Regions from separate parts of the Homo sapiens genome. Here region 2 is linked to region 1. Evidence: promoter capture Hi-C in 16 types of primary human blood cells and fetal thymus (Javierre and others, 2016). All regions are on one chromosome and are shown on one strand. Each heading gives the region's core, a stretch centred on a gene start or on the middle of the fragment in contact. The rest is flanking DNA. Distances are from core to core; before and after follow the strand shown. Region 1 holds the start of LGALS7B (galectin 7B). Region 2 overlaps RYR1 (ryanodine receptor 1).

Region 1 (4,581 bases), core at 963-3,462:
GCGGCTTTTTTAGTGCTGGTAATGGATATTCTCATTTCAGCGACCATTACCCGCTATTAAAGCGCAGAGGAGGGAGGTGAATTCGCGTAAGCTGTGGGTGGTGGAGGATCTGCCGCCACTCCCACCCGCCAATCCTTGCTAGGACGAGTTCCTGGGCGCTGTTTCCAACCCATCCCTCCCCATGCCTCAAACCCCGGACCTCAGGAAGGAATGAACTGGGAGTAGGGTCTGGGATGGCGAGTCTGGGCCACGCCTTCCCGCTAGGACGCCCACCCCTTGGACACTTGGCTGGTGCTCGCCTCGTCCTGACCCTGCTGTCTCTCTGTCCCTCGGACCCAAGTGGGAGTTGTTTAGGCGAGAGAGAGGGTCGAAGGACACCCTTCTCCGCCTTGGCCACGACTTCCCTACCCCCCTCACCCCGCCCCGAACCTCCCTGCCTTCCACCAATAGCCTGGCTTTGCCCAACCCTCTGCTCCAGGGACCTAAGTCTTGGCGTCCACGCCCCTGTCGCAGAGACGCACCTTGAAGCCGTCGTCTGACGCGATGATGAGCACCTCGAAGGGCTGCCCGCGCTGGAAAGGAACGCCCGGCCCGCGCTCCTCGCGGCCCCAGGAGCCTTGCTCCTTGCTGTTGAAGACCACCTCCGACGTGTCCAGCCGGGGGTTGAAATGCAGGGCGGCATCGGAGCCCTGCTCCTCCCCGCACAGCAGGTTTACATGGAACCTGGAAGAGGGGGATGGTGGCCGTCAGGGCTCAGAAACCACCCAGACCAAGAAATGTTGAGGGTGAGGAATACCGATGTCTACAATTTACTTTGAATGAATAAGTAAATGAAATGTTGGCTGGGTGCAGTGGCTCACCCTGTAATCCCAGCACTCTGGGAGGTGGAGAAGGGAGGATCGCTTGGGCCCGGAAGTTAAAGACCAGCCTGGGCAACATAGCGAGACCCCACCTTACAAAAAAACGAAAGAACAAACAAAACATAAACCGCCCAGACCAAAGTGAAGGTCTTATGGGCTGGCACTCCCCATTCCCAGAGTACCCCCAAATTAACAGGGACCTGAAGACAGGCACACACCGCAGAAGGAGAGGTGGGCGACTAATGACCAGGGAGCTTAGATTCCCAAGGCAGCCAAAATATCATGAGGCCCTTGGCAGAAACCTACCCAGACCAAACTCACTACGCTTAGGGCAGGGTGCCCTCATTTCCAAAGAGCCTGGGAGCTGCCCAGGAGGTCTGGGTGATAGCCAGGGTGCTCCTGATGCTCAGGGAACCCTCAGCTTCTACAGGACAAAGAATAATACCAGGAACCCCAGTATTTCCAGGGTACCTCAGAATCCAGAAGGCCCGAAGTTCCTTAGCCAGGAAGTCAAAGGATGGCTTGGCAAGGACTCCCAGGGTCCAGGGTGTCTCCAGGACTTGGAGTATTTCCAGAGTTCCCTGGGACTCAGACATGGAAGTCATAGGACTATATCTAGGAACCCTGAGATTACCCAGGGACCTCAAATGCTTAGGGAAACTTAGGGACCCCAGCCACAAAGGCACGGGGGCAAATACGAATACATCAGATTTGAGGTCAGAAATGGCCTCGGACTCCTAGCCTGGTGGATACAGGTGGCCTCGGGCCCCTACTTCTGGACTGCAAAAATTGGGAGTCAGCTGATCCTGAGACCTGTACCCTTTACCCCTAGGGCCTGGGGCCTCACCTGCTGGCATTGGGAGGAACCAAGCCGCGAATTCTCAGCACCGTGCCAGGGCGGATGCCCTCGGGCAGTGAGGACTTGTGGGGGACGTTCTGCAAGAGTGGGGTGCAGGGGCCACTGTGAGCCGGTGAGACCGAAGGAGGGAGGCAGAAGGTGGGTCACCCCTCAGAGGAGCCGACCAGGGCTGAGACTGGCAGAAATCAGTGGAAGAGGAAAGGGTGGCGGAGAGGCAGGAAAGAGACCAGAAACAGACAGGGAAACAGATGGGGAGAGCAACAAAGACAAACAGAAAGATCCTCAAAGAGGGCCCCAGAGGAAGCCACAAAGAGGTAGAGGGGACAGTCGGGATGGGGGTTACCCGGAGGCCACAGCCCAGGCCAGTCCGTGGCACACTCACTGCCCACTTGCTCCTTTGAAAGAGGAGCCCCCAGCCCCCTCCCTGCTTGGCCCCGCCCCGGGCCCCTGGAGCACTCACGGACATGGCTGGGACCGGGTTGGGCAGCCGTGGTGGTGGGGCCTGCTGGGGACCTTAAATAAAAGCAGGGCGGGGCTGGCCCTGATGACTCACCCCACCCCTTCCCACCCACCACCCACACCTGGCACGGACCCTGGCCCTGGGGCAAGCCTGGCGAAGTGGGAGTGGCGCCTCTTCTTGGGGGCCCTGATCCCCCCATCACCCAGAGCCCGGGTGCACTGCCCCTCTCCTAGGAGCTGATAATAAGAGCCACCGCCCCTCCACCCCTGTCTTCCCACTGCCTGGCACACAGGAGAGTCTCTCATGCTCATTTTATCCACAGACATGTTGGGTCCTGAGAAGCCAAGCCCAGCGGGAACTCTAGACCCTTCTCTCCAGCTGAGAACCTCCTGCCTAGACTGGAAATGTCTGCGCTGAAATCCCTGCTTCTAAGTCTCCAGTGGAACAGCAGCCACAACAACGACGATAGTGCCAGACAGGGGGACTTCACAGGGTCGGAGGGCGGCCTGGTTGGCTCAGTGCTGCACCCCTGGGTCCTGGAGTGTGCCGGGTTCATGGGAAGTCCTCAGTCAGGAGGGGTGAAAGGAGGGGATCCACTAGGACTACGCTTGTCATTTCCCAGGCCCTTGGGCTGCCCAGGATATGCAGGAAATCACTGATTGGGACCCCACCATTCCAACAGAGAGAAGCATGGGTCACCCCCATTGTACAGAGAAGGAGGCTGAGGCTGGGATGGGAAGTGATTTTCCACAAGCCGGGCAGGACCCATTGCCCCAACCTCTGCCTTTCCTCACCTCTGGGCGTGCCTCTCCTGTGGGTTCTGTCTCTGGGGCTGGCTGTCTGGCTCTGTTTGTCTCTGTCTATAACTGTCTACCGCGTATTCCTGTCCCACTTCTCTCCTTCAAGTCTCTCTTGTTCCTCCTTCCAGGACTGTTACCATCTTCCCACCAATTTTGCAGGTCAGGATGAGGTGGGTTTTAGGGTGGTGGGTGGCCTAGCATTCCATCACCACCTAGATCAAAAGCAGAGCAAGGTGGGGACCCTCCCGCCAGCCCCAATATAGCCCGCTTGGGCCCAAGACTCTAGAAGAGAATCCAGGGTTGGGGAAGTAGACTGGGGGAGGCGGGGGGGGGGGGGGGGGCGGGCAGGACTGAAATCTGTTTCTGAAAGGCAGGGATGGTGTGGGAGCTGAACAGAAACCACTCCTGGCTGGGCATGGTAGCTCACGCCTGTAATCCCAGCACTTTGGGAGGCCAAGGTAGGTGGATCACTTGAGGTCAGGAGTTCAAGACCAGCCTGGCCAACATGGTGAAACCCCTTCTCTATAGAAAATACAAAAAATTGGCCAGGTGTGGTGGTGGACACCTGTAATCCCAGCTACCTGGGAGGCTGAGGCAGGAGAATTGCTTGAGCTGGGGAGGCGGACGTTGTAGTGAGCCGAGATCACACCACTGCACTGCAGCCTGGGCGACAGAGCTAGACTCTGTCTCAAAAAATAAAAATAAAGCCTGTAATCCCAGCACTTTGGGAGGCCGACGCGGGTGGATCACGAGGTCAGGAGATCGAGACCATACTGGCTAACACGGTGAAACCCCGTCTCTACTAAAAATACAAAACAAAATTAGCCGGGCATGGTGGCGGGCACCTGTAGTCCCAGCTACTCGGGAGGCTGAGGCAGGAGAATGGCATGAACCCGGGAGGCAGAGCTTGCAGTGAGCCGAGATCGCGCCACTGCACTCCAGCCTGGGCAACAGAGCAAGACTCCATCTCAAAAATAAATAAACAAACAAACAAATAAATAAATAAAAATAAACCACTCCTAGCAATGCAGCAGCCCTCCTGGACCTTTTCCACTCCCCACCCAACTCCTGCACTCCTGCCCCACCCAGCAGGCTGCTGAGAGGCCTGGGCAGAGGCAGGCTGGCAGTGGAAAGTTTGGGTGGAGACACCAGACCCAGAACCATCCTCCACCCTCTTTGTCCCAGGCCCCCAGCCTCTTGCCCCCTCCCCACACACTCCAAGGCACCAAGGTGGGGGACCAGTTCCTAGGGACGTGAGCTCAGAGAGGGAGGCTTGCAGCTGCATTTCAGTGGGAGCTGCAAGCACCCCCATTCTGCAGAAGACAAAACTGAGGCCTAGACAGGGACAGCTTCTCAGCCAAGGAAGCGGCCAGGCCCTGGGCTCCACAGGGGTGTCTGTGCCAAGGACATGTCATGGGCACGGACAGAGAGGACAGCAGGGTGTCCGGTGATCACACCACCAGCGCAGCTCAGTTAGTTCCCGAGAATGTTCCCTTGAATGGTGAACTCCATCATTCTAACATTATTGACCATTCTAAAGAACACACTCCTCACATTACTGACGCCTCATGCTGTGTACCGTGTTTCCCAGGAACTCAACTT
Region 2 (4,581 bases), core at 776-3,275, 250 kb after region 1:
ACTTTGGGAGGCCCAGGCAGGCAGATCACCTGAGGTCAGGAGTTTGAGACCAGCCTGACCAACATGGTGAAACCCCGTCTCTACTAAAAATACAAAAATTAGCTGGGTGTGGTGGTGGGCACCTGCAATCCTAACTACTTGGGAGGCTGAGGCAGGAGAATCGCTTCAACCCCGGAGGCAGAGGTTGCAGTGAGTGGAGATCTCACCATTGCAGTCCAGCCTGGGCAACAAGATGGAAACCCCGTCTCAAAAATAAATAAATAAATAAATAAATAATTTTAAAATAGGCTGGGAGCGGTGGCTCACACCTGTAATCCCAGCACTTTGGGAGGCCCAGGTGGGTGGATCACTTGAGGTCAGGAGTTTGAGACCAGCCTGGCCAACATGGTGAAATCCCGTCTCTACTAAAAAAAATACAAAATTAGCCAGGTGTGGTGGCATGTGCCTGTAATCCCAGCTACCTGGGAGGCTGAGGCAGGAGAATTGCTTGAACCCGGAAGGCAGAGGTTGCAGTGAGCCTAGATCATGCCACTGCACTCCAGCTTGGGCAACAAGAGTGAAACTCCGTCTCAAAAAATAAATAAATATAAAAAAATAAAATATAAATATTATTGAGGGCCTGCTATGTGTCAAATGTGGTGGAGCGTCATTTATTCATTCAGTTTTTTCCAACAAATTTGTATATTGACCACCAACTATGTAGCAGGGAGAAATAGAGATTCAGTTCCTCGTTAGTTTCCAAACAATTTTATCAAATTCCTCCTATGTGCTGGGGATATTCATGCATTTATCCAACAAATATTTATTGAGCACCTACTAAAGGCCAGGGAACATATGGATTGGTCACTTGTTCATTTATTCAACATATTTTATTGAGTGTATACTACATCCTCACGAGATTAAGATTGTCACATCCTCTTTGCTACAACAAATTTGTTGCGTTCTTACTATGTGTCATGCAGTATTCTAGGCTCTGGGGATACAGTAGTAAAAAAAAAAAAAACAGTCCCCGGCCTTGGGGGGGATTTTTTTTTTTTTTTGACAAGGTCTCCCTCTGTTGCCTAGGTTGGAGTACTGTGGCATGATCATAGCTCACTGCAGCCTTGACCTCCTGGGTTCAAGTGGTCCTCCCACCTCAGCCTCCCAGGTAGCTGGAACTATAGGTGTGAGCCACCACATCCGGCCAATTTTTAATTTTTTTGTTGAGACCAGCCCAGGCTGGTCTCGAACTCCTGGCCTCAAGCAACCCTCCTACCTTGACCTCCCATAGTGCTGGGATTACAGACATGAGCCGTATGTCCAGCCCCTGCCCTTGTGAAGTTTATATTCTTGTGCAGTAATTTTTTAATCTTTTCTGACTGCAATCTATGGTAGGAAATCCTTTTTTTTTTGAGATACAGTCTTGCTCTGTCACCCAGGCTGGAGTGCAGTGGCATGATCTCAGTTCACTGCAAACTCTGCCTCCCAGGTTCAAGCAATTCTCCTGCCTCAGCCTCCTGAGTAGCTGGGATTACAGGCATGCGCCACCACGCCCGGCTAATTTTTTTGCATTTTTAGTAGAGACAGGGTTTCACCATATTGGACAGGCTGGTCTCCAACTCCTGACCTTGTGATCCACCTGCCTCGGCCTCCCAAAGTGCTGGGATTACAGGTGTAAGCCACCACACCCAGCCGAGGAAATCCTTTTTACATTGAGACCTGATACATGTGTTCAATCTGAAATTATATTCACCTATTCCCGAAAGAGAAGTTTCACATTGCCTTACTCTGTGCCATGCATTCTGTTCTTTTCTGTCCTGTACTGCTCTAGTTAACTACAAAAGAAGAAGTGTGTGCTTCTCATCCTCTCAACCTTGGCTGCACATCAGGACAACTAGGAGGCTTTTAAAAACCCCAGTGCTCAGGCCCAACCCCAGATCAATTGAATTAGAACCTGTAAAGGCAAAACCTGGGCTTAAGTCTCTTTTAAAGCTCCCCAGGCATGCCAGTGTACAATTACAATGAGAACCTCTGCGTGAAACTGATTCATGAACGTCTGTCTGATGGGTTGGTTCCCACTATTTAAAAAACATTGTTCTGTGAAAGCAAACTGTTAAAGCTGAGTGATGGGTAGTTGGGGGTTTATTATACTGTAATATATGATTGGAGGTTTATTACACTGTAGTATATGATTGGAGGTTTATTACACTGTAGTATATGATTGGAGGTTTATTACACTGTAGTATATGATTGGAGGTTTATTACACTGTAGTATATGATTGGAGGTTTATTACACTGTAGTATATGATTGGAGGTTTATTACACTTTAGTATATGATTGGAGGTTTATTACACTGTAGTATATGATTGGAGGTTTATTACACTGTAGTATATGATTGGAGGTTTATTACACTGTAGTATATGATTGGAGGTTTATTACACTGTAGTATATGATTGGAGGTTTATTACACTGTAGTATATGATTGGAGGTTTATTACACTGTAGTATATGATTGGAGGTTTATTACACTGTAGTATATGATTGGAGATTTATTACACTGTAGTATATGATTGGAGGTTTATTACACTGTAGTATATGATTGGAGGTTTATTACACTGTAGTATATGATTGGAGGTTTATTATACTGTAGTATATGATTGGAGGTTTATTATACTGTAGTATATGATTGGAGGTTTATTATACTGTAGTATATGATTGGAGGTTTATTATACTGTAGTATATGATTGGAGGTTTATTATACTGTAGTATATGATTGGAGGTTTATTATACTGTAGTATATGATTTTTTTTTTTTTTGGTAGAGACAGGGTCTCCTTATGTTGCCCAGACTTGTCTTGAACTGCTGGGCTCAAGTGATCCTCCTGCCTCAGCCTCCTAAAGTGCTGGGATTACAGGCATGAGCCACAGTGCCCAGCCAAGTCCTTTTAAATGTTTATAGCAACATCATGTTGCACAGGAAGGTTTTAACAGCCCCTGAAAGTATTTTTGCCCCCCGTTTTTCTTTCCCCTTAACTTTTTTACAGTCAGTTCACAATTGCTCTATCAGGTTGGCTCAACAGAAGGCCCATTTTGCCTAGTTTCATGACATAGACAAAGCATACTCAAATATTCAAAATTTTATAAGCAAAGGTACAGGTTTTCCCATCAACCCTGCTTTCTAACTCCTTTATTTGTGTTAATTTAAATTGTTAAATTAAATTGTGTTAATTTAAATTGGGCTATATGCAAAAATAAAAGATACACAGCTCCTGTAAAAAAAATTCTGGCAACTGACAACACCTGTTATAGACATGTGCAAATAAGTGAGAGACAAACCTTTTGTCTGCTTTGAATAGCACTGACTCCTCAAGACATGCAAGGGGTCTGAGATTTGAAAGATATTTCAAATATCTATTTGATTAGGTCATGAATTTAGGCGAGGACTGGGTTGCAAATATGTTGGGAGACAGCAATCCCTTTCATAACAACATTCTCATTTTCAAAACTTCATATTCCTGAGGAATAAAATTTATTTTAAACCCAAAGACTGATTCCATCTTAGTTAAAATTAAAGAATGAAAATCTTAGTCCCGGCTGGGTATGGTGGCTCACACCTGTAATCCCAGCATTTTAGGAGGCCAAGGCAGGAGGATTGCTTGAATCCAGGAGTTTGAGATCCCCTGGGCAACACAGTGAGATCTCATCTCTACAAAAAATAAAAAACTTAGCCAGACATGGTGATGCATGCCTGTAGTCCTGGATACTCGGGAGGCTGAGGGGTGGATTACTTGAGCCCAGGAGGCAGAGGTTGCAGCGAGCTGTGATCACACCACTGCACTCCAGTCTGGGCGACAAGAGTGAGACTCTGTCTAAAAAAAAAAAAAAAAAAAAGAAAAAATCTTAGTCCCATGGCACAAAGGTATTTAATAAACCTTGAAAAACTCGTTGTGGACACAAGAGCTTTTGAAAATTCAAGACAAAGAGATCATACTTTATCCTTTGTTGAAAGAAAAAGAATGAAGATTAAAGATATTTACAAATCAGTTACCTTAAAGAGCACTAACCAAGTGGGTGAAGGTTCTATGGAAGTAAGATTACTAATTACTCCAATTCTTGTCACGAAAGTTGATTTCCGGGTAGTCTGTGGTTTCCTAATCACCTGCTAAAGGTTATAACCACAATCTTGAGACTGTACATGTTTGTTATAGGAAATGGCATTGGGTAGAATGTTTTTTGTGCAGAATTTTGTCTGTTCTGTAAAGTTGTAAGCTAGGTTTGCTGCATGAGACTGCATTTCTCATCATTGATGTTGTGTAATTAATTTGCTGTCATCCTCAATCTTGTTAAATTGGCTGAACCACAACAAAACAAAACTCTTGCTTAAGATAGGAAAGAATCTGTAGGCCTTTGTACAGATCTTTCCTCTGCAAAGATTTTATAAGCAAAATAAACAAGTGATTCTAATAGATTTATTTTTAAATGCCAGGCAGTTTTTTCCCTTAGGTCTTTTCTGGACCTAAAGTACAGAAATCCACCACGTGTATAGAACTTTGGCAGCCACTGCAGAGCGCCTGTGGGAAAATAGCATGTGACAAATTGTCCAT

What was found. The method cuts DNA at HindIII sites, captures the fragments that hold promoters and counts their contacts. A CHiCAGO score of 5 or more calls a contact.
Region 2: a fragment that was not itself captured here is called in contact with the fragment with the promoter of LGALS7B in region 1 in 1 of 17 cell types (naive CD8 T cells); the score reaches 6.2 in naive CD8 T cells.

The regions. Positions count from the first base shown.
Region 1 is chr19:38,786,831-38,791,411 of GRCh38, reverse strand. LGALS7B (galectin 7B) reads right to left here and starts at 2,212. Exons shown (of 4, transcript NM_001042507.4): 1 at 2,180-2,212; 2 at 1,708-1,796; 3 at 522-723. The coding sequence starts at 2,185. The HindIII fragment of the contact is 12,505 bases long and covers 1-4,581 here.
Region 2 is chr19:38,538,526-38,543,106 of GRCh38, reverse strand. All of the region lies in intron 84 of RYR1 (ryanodine receptor 1), which reads right to left. Among named protein-coding and RNA genes, the nearest start is that of MAP4K1-AS1, 56 kb to the left of the region's middle. The HindIII fragment of the contact is 8,158 bases long and covers 1-4,581 here.